3 separate regions of the Homo sapiens genome follow, and all the other regions are linked to region 2. Evidence: promoter capture Hi-C in 16 types of primary human blood cells and fetal thymus (Javierre and others, 2016). All regions are on one chromosome and are shown on one strand. Each heading gives the region's core, a stretch centred on a gene start or on the middle of the fragment in contact. The rest is flanking DNA. Distances are from core to core; before and after follow the strand shown.

What was found. Contacts are between HindIII fragments. The CHiCAGO score rates a contact against its expected background, and 5 or more counts as called.
Region 1: a fragment that was not itself captured here is called in contact with the fragment with the promoter of PCP4L1 in region 2 in 5 of 17 cell types (M1 macrophages, M2 macrophages, erythroblasts and 2 more); the score reaches 6.9 in M1 macrophages.
Region 3: a fragment that was not itself captured here is called in contact with the fragment with the promoter of PCP4L1 in region 2 in 6 of 17 cell types (M0 macrophages, megakaryocytes, M1 macrophages and 3 more); the score reaches 6.8 in M0 macrophages.

The regions. Positions count from the first base shown.
Region 1 is chr1:161,338,337-161,342,497 of GRCh38, forward strand. It overlaps SDHC (succinate dehydrogenase complex subunit C), which reads left to right. Exons shown (of 6, transcript NM_003001.5): 4 at 2,258-2,319. Among named protein-coding and RNA genes, the nearest start is that of SDHC, 26 kb to the left of the region's middle. The HindIII fragment of the contact is 9,839 bases long and covers 1-4,161 here.
Region 2 is chr1:161,257,165-161,260,686 of GRCh38, forward strand. PCP4L1 (Purkinje cell protein 4 like 1) reads left to right here and starts at 1,581. Exons shown (of 3, transcript NM_001102566.2): 1 at 1,581-1,819. The coding sequence starts at 1,811. RefSeq lists an enhancer at 1,949-2,449. The HindIII fragment of the contact is 2,153 bases long and covers 491-2,643 here.
Region 3 is chr1:161,361,238-161,365,888 of GRCh38, forward strand. SDHC (succinate dehydrogenase complex subunit C) reads left to right here. Exons shown (of 6, transcript NM_003001.5): 6 at 1,092-1,969. The coding sequence ends at 1,196. It overlaps CFAP126 (cilia and flagella associated protein 126), which reads right to left. Exons shown (of 5, transcript NM_001013625.4): 4 at 4,289-4,465; 5 at 3,496-3,913. The coding sequence ends at 3,728. Among named protein-coding and RNA genes, the nearest start is that of CFAP126, 4.3 kb to the right of the region's middle. RefSeq lists an enhancer at 3,942-4,444. The HindIII fragment of the contact is 1,452 bases long and covers 808-2,259 here.

The DNA.
Region 1 (4,161 bases), core at 852-3,351, 82 kb after region 2:
AGAATTTTCTTTTGAGATCTTTTTAACCTCTTTATTTCTCTTCAAAGTGTTGAAGATACGGTTTGATTATGCTTAGTATTCTTTGTCTAAGCTAACATTCCAAGATGAGCGTTAGCTTTCTTCAGAGACTCTTGTTCTTTCCATTTTACCCACCAGTTCTCTCTTGAGCATGAGAACTAGGTCTAGAATAACAATGTTGGTTGTCCTTCAATGGAAAGTTGATGATTCATAATTTAAAAAGGGGTTTGATGATGAAAAGTATTTCAGAACTACTGTGGATTAAGAAATATATACTAAATCCAGAAGATTGGATATAAAAATTTGGGATAGGTAACTTATTAGGAAATAAGTGGTATGTTCAGTTTGGATATTTTGGGGCATATAATAAGGGAGGATTCAAGGATGACCATGTATTATATGAAACTGTGGATAAATGAAACTCAGGTTTTCTTCCATCAGTGTTATACCTGGAGAAATAGAGGGACCCAGGTTGTATTACAGTGATTGCTTTCTTTCTTTTTCTTTTTTTTGAGATGGAGTCACCCTCTGTCGCCCAGACTGGAGTGCAGTGGCGTGATCTCCATTTACGCCAAACTCCGCCCCCCGGATTCAAGTCATTCTCCTGCCTCAGCCTCCCAAGTAGCTGGGATTACAGGCATGCACCACCACGCCTGGCTAAATTTTTGTATTTTTAGTAGAGATGGGGTTTCACCGTGTTGGCCAGCCTGGTCTCGAACACCTGACCTCATGATCCACCCGCCTCAGCCTCTTAAAGTGCTGGGATTACAGGCGTGAGCCACCGTGCCCGGCCTATAGTGATTACTTTCTAATTGTATCAACTGTATTTATTTATTTAGAGGCATGGTCTCTGTCTCTCTCTCCCCAACCCGGGCTGGAGTACAGTGGCACAGTCATAGCTCACTGCAGTCTGGAGTTCCTGGCCTCAAGCGACCCTCTCACTTCAGTCTCCCAAGTAGCTGGGACCACAGGCCTCTGCCACCACACCCAGCTAATTTTTTTTTTTTTTTTCGTAAAGATGGGGTCTCATTACGTTGCCTAGGTTGACCTTGAACTCCTGAACTCAACGGCCCCCGCCTTGGCCTCCCAAAGTACTAGGATTACAGGTGTGAGCCACCATGCCAGCTCCAACTTTAATGAGTGTCTTTGACCCATGTTTCTCCTTGCGAAAGGAGTTTTGAGTTATAATCATTTTTTTTTTTCTCAGCCCTATCAGTGATGCAGTCTGGTAAAGGTAGGGATCCTTCTCCATAAATCAGTTTTCTTTATTCTTTAATTTATTTTTGTAACCTAATCCTGATACAGGTGTTTTTTTTTTTTTTTTTTTTTTTTTTTTGGAGACAGAGTTTCACTCTTGTTGCCCAGACTGGAGCTGGAGTGCAATGGTGCGATCTTGGCTCACCGCAACCTCCACCTCCTGGGTTCAAGCAATTTTCCTGCCTCAGCCTCCCGAGTAACTGAGATTACAGGCATGTGCCACCACATCCGGCTAATTTTGTATTTTCAGTAGAGACGGGGTTTCTCCATGTTGGTCAGGCTGATTGCGAACTCCTGACCTCAGGTGATCCACCTGCCTTGGCCTCCCAAAGTGCTGGGATTACAGGCGTGAGGCACCGCGCCTGGCCCAGGTTTGTATTTTTAAAGTAAAAAGTGGAAACACGGCTGGGCACAGTGGCTCACACCTGTAATTCCAGTACTTTGGGAGGCCGAGGTGGGCGGATCATGAGATCAGATCAAGACCAGCCTGGCTAAGGTGATGAAACCCCTTTACTAAAAATACAAAAATTAGGCGGACCTGGTGGCAGGCACCTGTAATCCCAGCTACTCAGGAGGCTGAGGCAGGAGAATCTCATGAACCCGGGAGGCAGAGGTTGGAGTGAGCTGAGACTGTGGCATGGGACTCCAGCCTGGGTGACAGAGCAAGACCCTGTTCCGGGGGGGTAAAAAAAAAAGTGAAAAGACAGGAATGCAAAAGCTGGTGATTTTTTGTTTTGTTTTGTTTTGTTTTAAGAAAATATTACCTATTCAGGAGAATTGCTTGGACCCGGGAAGTGGAGGTTGCAGTGAGCTGAGATCATGCCATTGCCAGCCTGGGCAACAGAGCGAGACTCTGTCTCAAAAAAAAAAAAAGAAAAAAAAGTGCCTATTTCAGAATTAGTTTATATTTTTGCCAAGATAGACTCTCTACTATGGTGTCATCTTTTCCTTTTTAAAATTGTCTTTGTGTGTTTCTTTACAGTTGGTCTCTTCCCATGGCGATGTCCATCTGCCACCGTGGCACTGGTATTGCTTTGAGTGCAGGTATGTATATGTGTTTTTACACACACATATGTGCTTCTTTGAAAAACTTGGCTGTTTCATTGGCCCTAGTCTCCGCCTCCTTTGAAACTCAGCACTTGATTTAGAGGGAACAGTAAGTCTCTTAAGTTTATTGTTCATTCATCCCTTTAACAATTAATTATGAGTTTGCACTGTGCTCAGATTCTTTTCTTCTTTTTTTTCTTTTTGAGACAGAGTCTTGCTCTTTTGCCCAGGCTGGAGTGCAGTGGCGCGATCTCGGCTCACTGCAACCTCCGCCTGCTGGGTTCCAGCGATTCTCCTGCCTCAGCCTCCTGAGTAGCTGGGATTACAGGCATGTGCCACCACGCCTGGCTAAATTTTTGTATTTTTAGTAGAGACGGGGTTTCACCATGTTAGCCAGGATGGTCTTGATCTGACCTCATGATCCGCCTGCCTCAGCCTTCCAAAGTGCTGGGATTACAGACATGAGCCACTGTGCCTGGCCCAGATTAGTTTCTTAGCAAATTTTTAAACCATTCCCTAGCACTTCCTGATATCATGTTTATTGAAATTATAGAGAGCAGAGAAATGTAATAGAGATGGGCTGGCTGACTGATCATTGATGAAACACAGTCCAACCTTATTTTTCCAGAAGCTCAGTTTTAGCACCCATTCTTATCACCTAGACATGCTCAGTCCCCCAAAGACTAGCTCACTAACCAGTCTCACAAAATCTTGATTTACAGACCAGAATGTCTATTTATTCATTTATATAATATGAACTGCAGCTACAGAGTGAATTATATACTGGTCTTAGATAATTAGTACATCCTTTTTAGGTAGGAAGGTTTATTATATGGAGTGCAGATTATAATCAGTTTTCTGGGATCTGATGTATCTTTTCACAGTAGGGATATACTTTACAAGAGGGTCAGCTAGATTTAAAAATTATGTCTGGCTGGTGCTGGAGACATAGACATTTTTGCTTTTTTATGTATTTATTTTCTCACAAGAATGTGCATGTAACATATTTTTACTTTTTTAGCTTTCCTTTATTTAGCCTTATAGCATACTTTGCTCTCCTACCCCCACCAAAAACAGAAACAAAAACTAGATTATGTTCCCTGGATACATGCTCTTAAAGCATTCTAGTTTTTCTTTCATAATCATAGTTGTAATTTACTTGTTCATTGTTGTTCTTCCTTACTGGATTGTCTGTTCCCTGAGGGCTTAGACTGCATCTGTCTGTATTTTTAATTATCTAGTAGGGTACCTAGAATGCAGTAGATAATTTAGTAAATATTTGGTGAATACAAAATGAATACCACTCTCTTTTTTGTTAATGTGTTTTATATATTTCTGTCCCAAATTTCTATTCCATTTATAATCATATTTTTTGGCTCTAGAAGTATCTTATTTTGGTCCCCTGCATATTGACTATAATAACTACCTAACTAGTATTGTATTTCAACTGGCATTTCTGTGTGATGTGATTACTAGTTTAGCTGAAAGCTATTCAGTTCAGTGGGAGCCAGAAGAGGTTATTGTACATGAGAGTGCTGCATAGGTAAATCTGAGTTTGCTCTCTATTAGTCTCCTTGAGACATTGGGGGAACTTGTGTTCTCTCCCAGCGAAGGTGATCTAGCCCATATATATCCACAGGGAGAACAGGTGCAAACTAGGAGTAGTGGAGTGCTTTCTAAAAGAAATGCTCCAATGCACTATTAGCACATACTCAACAAGACTTCTGTTCCAAGTTGATAGTCCTGGGACCTTTGCTGGCAAAGGAAAATGAGCTTATGACTTAGAACAGTGTGTAAATCCCTGCTGTGTGTACAAACTTTTCTCTCCTGTGGATAGTT
Region 2 (3,522 bases), core at 331-2,830:
CTTACAAATGGAACCCCAAACGAGCTCAACTAACAACTTCTACCGAGGACCCCTGGACCAACCCACTGACCCTTTGGCTGGCCTAGAGAGTTTCCCTCTGGAGGATACTACCACTGCAGGGCCCCTTCGCCCCCATCCAGCAGGAAGTAGCTAGAGTGGTCATCGCCCAATTTCCAACAGCAGCTGGGGTGTCCTGTTTAGAGGGGAGATTGAGAGGTGAAGCCAGCTGGACTTCTGGGTCAGGTGGGGACTTGGAGAACTTTTCTGTCTTACAAGAGGATTGTAAAATGTGCCAATTAGCACTCTGTAGCTAGGATTGTAAAACGCACCAATCAGCACTCTGTAGCTAGCTAGAGGTTTGTAAAATGAACCAATCAGCACTCTGTAAAATGGACCAAACAGCAGGACATGGGCGGTGACCCCAGGAAATAAAAGCTGGCCACCCCAGCCAGCAGCAGCAACGTGCTCGGGTCCCCTTCCATGCTGTGGAAGCTTTGTTCTTTCGCTCTTCACAATACATCTTGCTGCTGCTCACTCGCTCACTGACTCACTCTTTGTGTCCGTGCCACCTTTAAGAGCTGTAACACTCACTGCAAAAATTCCCAGCTTCATTCTGGAAGTCAGCGAGACCAAGAACCCACCAGAAGGAACCAACTCCAGACACAGTAGGATTTGATGAATCCTAAAATGTCTTCCAACTCCTGAGATCTATGATCTTCCACATCAAACAGGCACTTCACAATTTCCCTGTTCTTTGCCAAAGAAAGCTGTCCATTTGCTCCAGTCTCTCTCTCATTCTGTCTCTCTCTCTCTTCCCCCAGCCTTCCTCCCTCTCTTGTGCTATTCTCTGGTCCAGGGTTCTGTTCTTTTTTTTTTTTTTTTTTTTGAGACGGAGTCTTTCTCTGTCACCCAGGCTGGAGTGCAGTGGCGCGATCTCGGCTCACTGCAAGCTCCACCTCCCGGGTTCACGCCATTCTCCTGCCTCAATCTCCCGAGTAGCTGGGATTACAGTCGCCTGCCACCACGCTTGGCTAATTTTTTGTATTTTTAGTAGAGACTGGGTTTCACCGTGTTAGCCAGGATGGTCTCGATCTCCTGACCTTGTGATCTGCCCGCCTCGGCCTCCCAAAGTGCTGGAATTACAGGCTTGAGCCACCGCGCCCGACCTCCAGGGTGCTATTCTACTAGGAAATCTTAATCTGCAACATCTCTTGGCTTTACCCCTTTCATTCACTGTTTCCTGTTTTCCGTGTACCCTCTTGATTTCTTTCCAGGCCTTCTCTTTCTCAGACTCACACACTCCTTCCATTCCACTCCCCACCTTGCCTTCTTCGTGTACATCTCCTTTCTCCCTCTCTTTCTTTGCTCCCCCTACTTCATTTTCCGTCCCCGCATCCCCCGATGGTCTCCCCCTCCTTCCCGCTCTCTGTCTTACCCTAGTTTGGAAATGCAGCAGACCTCTAAACCTGCCAGCATTGGATGCAAGAGGCTGTCATTCTACGGTAGGAGGAGCTTCTATTGGTCGGGCTGGAGGCGGGTACCGAGCTGAGTATAAAAGGTGGGGCCGGAGGCGGCGAGCTGAGCGGCTCTGACAGGACGGGTCGCAGGGGGTCGCCTGGCCGGAGCTGGGCTCCGAGAATCCCGGGTGCCAGCACCAGAGCAGCGGCTCTCCGCACTAACTCTCCTCTCCTGGTCAGCTGTAACCCCTGCCGCAGAGCCCGGCAACTTTCAGCTGTCGCCCGCGGAGCCCCGAGGGCCACTCGCCTCACCTGTGCGTGCAGCGCCTCGCGCGCCCTGTCCGGCTGCGGAGATGAGCGAGGTGAGCGGTGCGGCCCCCGGCGCTGTCGGCAGGGCTGCGGCGGGGAGGGTGCTGCGGCTCGGGATCCCAGGGAGGCGAGGGAGAGCGAGGCAGACCGGAGCCGCGAAGAACCCTCCAGGGGCGCCCCACTGCCCTCCTAGGAAAGCTCCCACCTCGGGGCGCTGGGAAACGATTGGAAGACGGGGTGCTTTCAGTCTCCCTACTGTGGACGGCGCTTTTGGGGGTAATTGGAATCGGCTGTAGAGTCCGGAAGCGGGGATGCTGAGCTCTCAGGTGGTAGGTCATCCCCTCTGGATACTGCCCCCTGCATCTGTCTTACTGCCCGAGATTATTCTGGCTCCCCTTACCCCCCTCACTTCGCTTCTGTCCTCTCTCTCCTAGGGATGTAAGGCACTCACATTCCTTCTGTAGCATCTAACAAGAACTCCATCCCTGGCCCCCGGGGAGGGCCACTGTGCCCCTTTTAGAAAGGTGGCATCCTGCCCTCCACTCATTCAGTCAGGAACGTTGGAGGGACGTGTTCCGGTATTTAGAAGCCCCTGCCAGTTGCTGGGGAGATTTCCCCTTCAAGAATAGACCTCCCTCTGCAGTGCTTGTTACAAACTAGGTCTTCCGGCAGGCTCTGTGGTGTTCACCGTGGCCAGACCCAGGCCATTAACTGATTTACTGTTTTCAAAGAACACTGTTCATGGGGTGGGGGAGTGGGGGGTCAAAGCAGAGACTTTGGAAAGACGTCTCCTATTGTCTATTTGTAGGCACAGTCTCATCTCCAGAAACAAGGATCAGCCTTTCCAAGTGAAGTCAGTCTGGTTAGTGGCATCACAAGCTTGCCCTCTGCAACCTCTTTCCTAGTACCCACATCGTTGTGTTAAATCCAACTCCTCTGCTATATGTCAGATATGTATGTAGGCCAGCTACTTACCTGTGATGTAGCCTTAGGCAAAGTACAAAACCTTTGTTTCATTTTTTGTCTGTAAAATGGGGATAATACTGGTTGTTGTAATAATTAAATGAGATAATATATGCCAAATACTTGAAACAGGACCTGGCACTCAATCTATATTAGCTATTATCTTTCTGTTTCTTTTTTCTTCCTCTCCCATTAGAGTATTACAGAAATTTAACAGAAGAATTCCCAAAGACATTAGATTACTGAAGGAATAGGACCCTGGAGCCTGGGTTCCAGTTTAGATACTAAAAATGAAGATCTCTATGACTCCTACCAAAAGTTGTCACCCAGGGAGCTAATTAGTGCCAACTGCTGTGTTGTCTTGGTTGCCGTGTTCACTAATTTTATCCTGGAAAATTCGGCTAGTCTGGGGGCTGCAGATGAACCAAAGTGGTTTCCAGTCCCTCAGCTGGTTGTGACTCTGATGATGGCAATCTTTCAGAAAGAAAAGAAAAAAACGCATCAACCTCCTCTTTCACCTCTAATGTGGGAAGAGAGGTTTTCTTTGCCCCTTTTCACTGAGGTCTAGGGTTCATACTACTCCTCCCACCCCGAGCATTTCTAAATCTGAAAGTTGTAATCCAAGCCATCCCCTGGGAGTTTGTGATCTGAAGGCTATGCCAACGTGAGGATTTGCAGTTAGCCTGTGTTTTCTGGGGTAAGTGCACAGCCCCTTTGTAGGACACACTACAGGGGCTGGCATTTAGAGTGGTATTTGGTGGAATGAGAAGCCTGTTTTGTAGCAAAGGAAACA
Region 3 (4,651 bases), core at 284-2,783, 100 kb after region 2:
TTATATATAAAATATATAAATATATACTTGTATATATATGGCACCACTTAGTAATGGTAAATATTGTTTTATCAACTTTTGCTATATTATATATACATATCTATTGGGTTCCAGTTTTAAAGGTATTTCTTAGTGGAGTCACAGTCAAAACAAAATTGAGAAATAGTGTTCTAGATCTCAGAGTATCCTTTAGAATACTAGTCCTCTGATAAATAGAGTTTCCCTCTATAAAAAGATTCTGAGATTGACTGTATCTAGGAAATCAGGCATATTATATCTCTCTTTTGGAGATTCACAGTGTGCATTAGTAAACTGTAAGAGGCTGGGCGCAGTGGCTCACGCCTGTAATCCCAGCATTCTGGGAGGACAAGGCGGGCAGATCACGAGATCAGGAGATCAAGACCATCCTGGCTAACTCGATGAAACCCCATCTCTACTAAAAATACAAAAACAAAATTAGCCAGGCGTGGTGGCGTGTGCCTCTAGTCCCAGCTACTTGGGAGGCTGAGGCAAGAGAATGGCATGAACCTGGGAGGTGGAGCTTGCAGTGAGCTGAGATCATGCCACTGCACTCCAGCCTGGGCGACAGAGTGAGAGTCCGTCTCAAAAAAAAAAAAAAAAAAAAAACTGTTTAGAAAGTCTTGCAGTTAAATGTTTATGAACTTTGTATGACCACAGAACTTTTTTTTTTTTGGCCCATACAATGGCTTTCAACATTCTGAGAGCAAGTGTTTGGAAGAATACACCTTGAGAAACATTAATCTAGATGTGTGGTCCTGAGGAAAAGTTGTATCTATTCATTCTGGAAGCTTTTGTATACCGTATGGGGCCTGTGGCATTCTAGAGAACATTCCTCCTACCATCACCACACAATAGAACCTGATTTTCTGTCATTGGAATAAGTGGATAATAGGTTCCATACTGTGGGTTTTGAGAAGGGTAAAGGTGGGGCATAAGGGTAGAAGCGCTTTTCTCTAGAATCATGCTGAGAGGAGATATCTATTCCTTTAGGTAGAATTACTTTCTGAGACAGGAACTGTTAATGTCCTATTTACTGAAATTCCTTTTTTTTTTTTTTGCTTTGTCCACAGATGTGGGACCTAGGAAAAGGCCTGAAGATTCCCCAGCTATACCAGTCTGGAGTGGTTGTCCTGGTTCTTACTGTGTTGTCCTCTATGGGGCTGGCAGCCATGTGAAGAAAGGAGGCTCCCAGCATCATCTTCCTACACATTATTACATTCACCCATCTTTCTGTTTGTCATTCTTATCTCCAGCCTGGGAAAAGTTCTCCTTATTTGTTTAGATCCTTTTGTATTTTCAGATCTCCTTGGAGCAGTAGAGTACCTGGTAGACCATAATAGTGGAAAAGGGTCTAGTTTTCCCCTTGTTTCTAAAGATGAGGTGGCTGCAAAAACTCCCCTTTTTTGCCCACAGCTTGCCTACTCTCGGCCTAGAAGCAGTTATTCTCTCTCCATATTGGGCTTTGATTTGTGCTGAGGGTCAGCTTTTGGCTCCTTCTTCCTGAGACAGTGGAAACAATGCCAGCTCTGTGGCTTCTGCCCTGGGGATGGGCCGGGTTGGGGGGTGGGTTGGTGAGGCTTTGGGTGCCACTGCCTGTGGGTTGCTGGCTTAAAGGACAATTCTCTTCATTGGTGAGAGCCCAGGCCATTAACACCTACACAGTGTTATTGAAAGAAGAGAGGTGGGGGTGGAGGGGAATTAGTCTGTCCCAGCTAGAGGGAGATAAAGAGGGCTAGTTAGTTCTTGGAGCAGCTGCTTTTGAGGAGAAAATATATAGCTTTGGACACGAGGAAGATCTAGAAAATTATCATTGAACATATTAATGGTTATTTCTTTTTCTTGGATTTCCAGAAAAGCCTCTTAATTTTATGCTTTCTCATCGAAGTAATGTACCCTTTTTTTCTGAAACTGAATTAAATACTCATTTTATCTTTGACTCTCCTTGAAATCTAGAGAAACCAAGAAAATGGCTGTTGGGAAGGAACCAATTTCCTCCTCTTCCCTCGGGTCTCAGGCATTTACATCCTCCCTCTCCCCGCAATCTGACCTTTACCAGGAGGGAAACAGTTCTCCTACATCTCATCATTGGAAAAGTTTTCAGGGAATCAGATAGAACTTAGCCAGAGATTTAAATATCACAGAAAAGCCTCAGAGAAGGAAGGAGAAAAAGAAAAGAAGTGACGCATGTAGAGTGCTTTTGGGTTATAGGCACCAAAATCCCATTAAGGACTGATTATAAGCTTCATGGTACAGTTCAGCAAATTATGATTCATTGAGGGGCACAGAGGACCAGTGTTGGTGACAGCTAGGGGATGATGACCTGAGGTTATAGGCTTGGGGTGAATGAAGCATAGAGTTTTTTTTTAAAAAAGAAGGGATTGTTGAAAACCTGGCAAAAATGTATAATTTAATGAGAAAACTTGCTGCTTTTAAAATCCATATAGGCCAGGCTTTAGCAGGCATGCTGTTTTGATAGTTTTTGGGAACTCTGGAATAAGAGACTTATCTCATCTGTCACTTCGAGTTGTTGGCCAGCCAGTTAAAGCTGTGGGTCGAAGAGGGGAAATGTTAACTGGCTGGTGTCAATTGGATAGGAAGACCTTAGTTAAGGTGGGGACCCGCTGTTTTAACAGTCTTCATTCAGGGTCCCAAATAGTATTTGGCTTTAAGTAATGATTGGTTTTCCCTTTTTACTAGAGGGGCCCTGGGAAGTCCTTGTACCTTTCCTCCATTTTAAACCAGCTGTTCTCTACTTTGTCCTTGGAATGAGGGACAAGTGATCATGACAGAACACTTTGTCATTGGGACTGGGAAAGGTTTGGCAAGGGCATTAAATTTAACAGCCAGTGCCAGGAAAATATAAAATGGGGTCAATGATAAACAGCTGTTAGAGGCTGGAAAATGGGTAGGGCAGTTGAATTTTTTGGTGGTTTCGTACCATTTGGGTGATTGAAGCATGGTAGTGGGTGGGTGGGGGGTGTGACAGAGCATCATGTTTGTTATTCTGCCTTAAATTTCTACTTACTGTCTTTTTCTTCTCTGTCTTCCAATCACTTTAATATCTTCAATTTTCAAACTATATTTGTACTTGGGCTTAGATAGAAAGTCTTACACAAGCATAGTATCTTCTACTTTGGTTTTCCCTACCTTTTCTTCCCCACCTTCTCCAAACACACATATACATACTCTACTCAATTCTATTTCTGATTTTGTAGTTGTTAGTTGTCCATGCTCAGGATAAAAAATGAGTGGGTAGGGTTGAGGGACTGGTTCTTTGAGGTTCTGCCCTTTTTCCATGATTCAGACCAACTTTCTCTTGGTCATTTCTGGAGTATAACTGACTCAATTCTTGTAAAAATGTGTTCCACCCAAACCACTGTATGTTCTTTTCCCTACTTTATTTTCTCCTACCTTCCTTCTCCTAATTGTGTTACAAGAGGCAGCCATAGCAAGAATGGAAAATCCAGATCAGTAAAAGATTCAACAAAAAAAAGTTTATTTTCCAAATTTGCTTTTACTCCCACCCCAAAATTTCCCTGTTTCACAGTTCTGACTGGGGGCTCTTGTTTATTTCACTGAGTCGCTATACGGGTTTTTCAGTGTGTGGCCACTTGGTCCATATGAAGTTCCAGGTTTGTATTTCTGGACCTCAGCTAGATTAGGCCCTGCCCAGAGTTCTAGCATACGTGGACTTCCAGGTGGGCTCTTAGGATTTGGCTGGTCTTTGGGGACCTGGAGTATGACCTGCAGAGGGGTGTGAGCTTTGGAGTTCATCTGGGGAATTGAGGTTGGCAGCTGGGGAGCTTGGAATTATGGTTGGACTTCGTGCTTGTTGTACAGTCTTTGTGATAGACTTCTTTCTGAGTTTCTTCTGACTGTCTGGATCATGGGGCTGTCAGTGATAAGAGTGGGAGAGATAGTCATGTCTCTGGTCAGGCCCGGATCATTCCTAATGCACCTCAGGATTCTAACTCCCTTTCTCCCCATACCATGGGCAGTAGATCAAGTTTCAAATAAGAAAAGTTAAATTTGATTTCTCTAACCACCCTCCCCCACCTTGAGATTAGATCATTTTCTACTGTTGGGGGTATGATGTCCTTAGCCCATCCCTTCAGGCCTCAGAAGGTGATTAAGGACTAGTCAAGATAAGACAAATTGGTTAGAGGTCCCCCATGCTGGGATAGTGGTGGCATAACAATAGACATTTTTTGAGGTTGAAAAGAAATTGAGACTACAGGGTTTTGGGTTAGATGGGAAGAATAGATACCTTGCCTAAGATTTCAGGACACAGCCCATTGGAGGCCTTGAGTAAATCAGGATTTTTCTGTATCCATTTGGTGAGGGAGGCAGCACCAGCAGTTGTACGGGAGGTCAGGGTCACCCGAGCAGGGGGTATCTTCAGAGGCATTTGCCAGGTGCCCATGAAGGAACCCCAAGGATTTGCCTAAAAATGAAAAGGGATTCCTCAGTAGGGCTTCTCACTCCCAGTAACTGACTTAGACCTCTGTATTATTTCCTTTCTTTACCTTTAGGAATGCATGGTTATGAAACAAGACTGAAAGCATAATCTTCCCACCCTTCCTTATCCCCCTCCCTCATTTAGGCTTTGCAGGCCTAATTTTTTCATCCC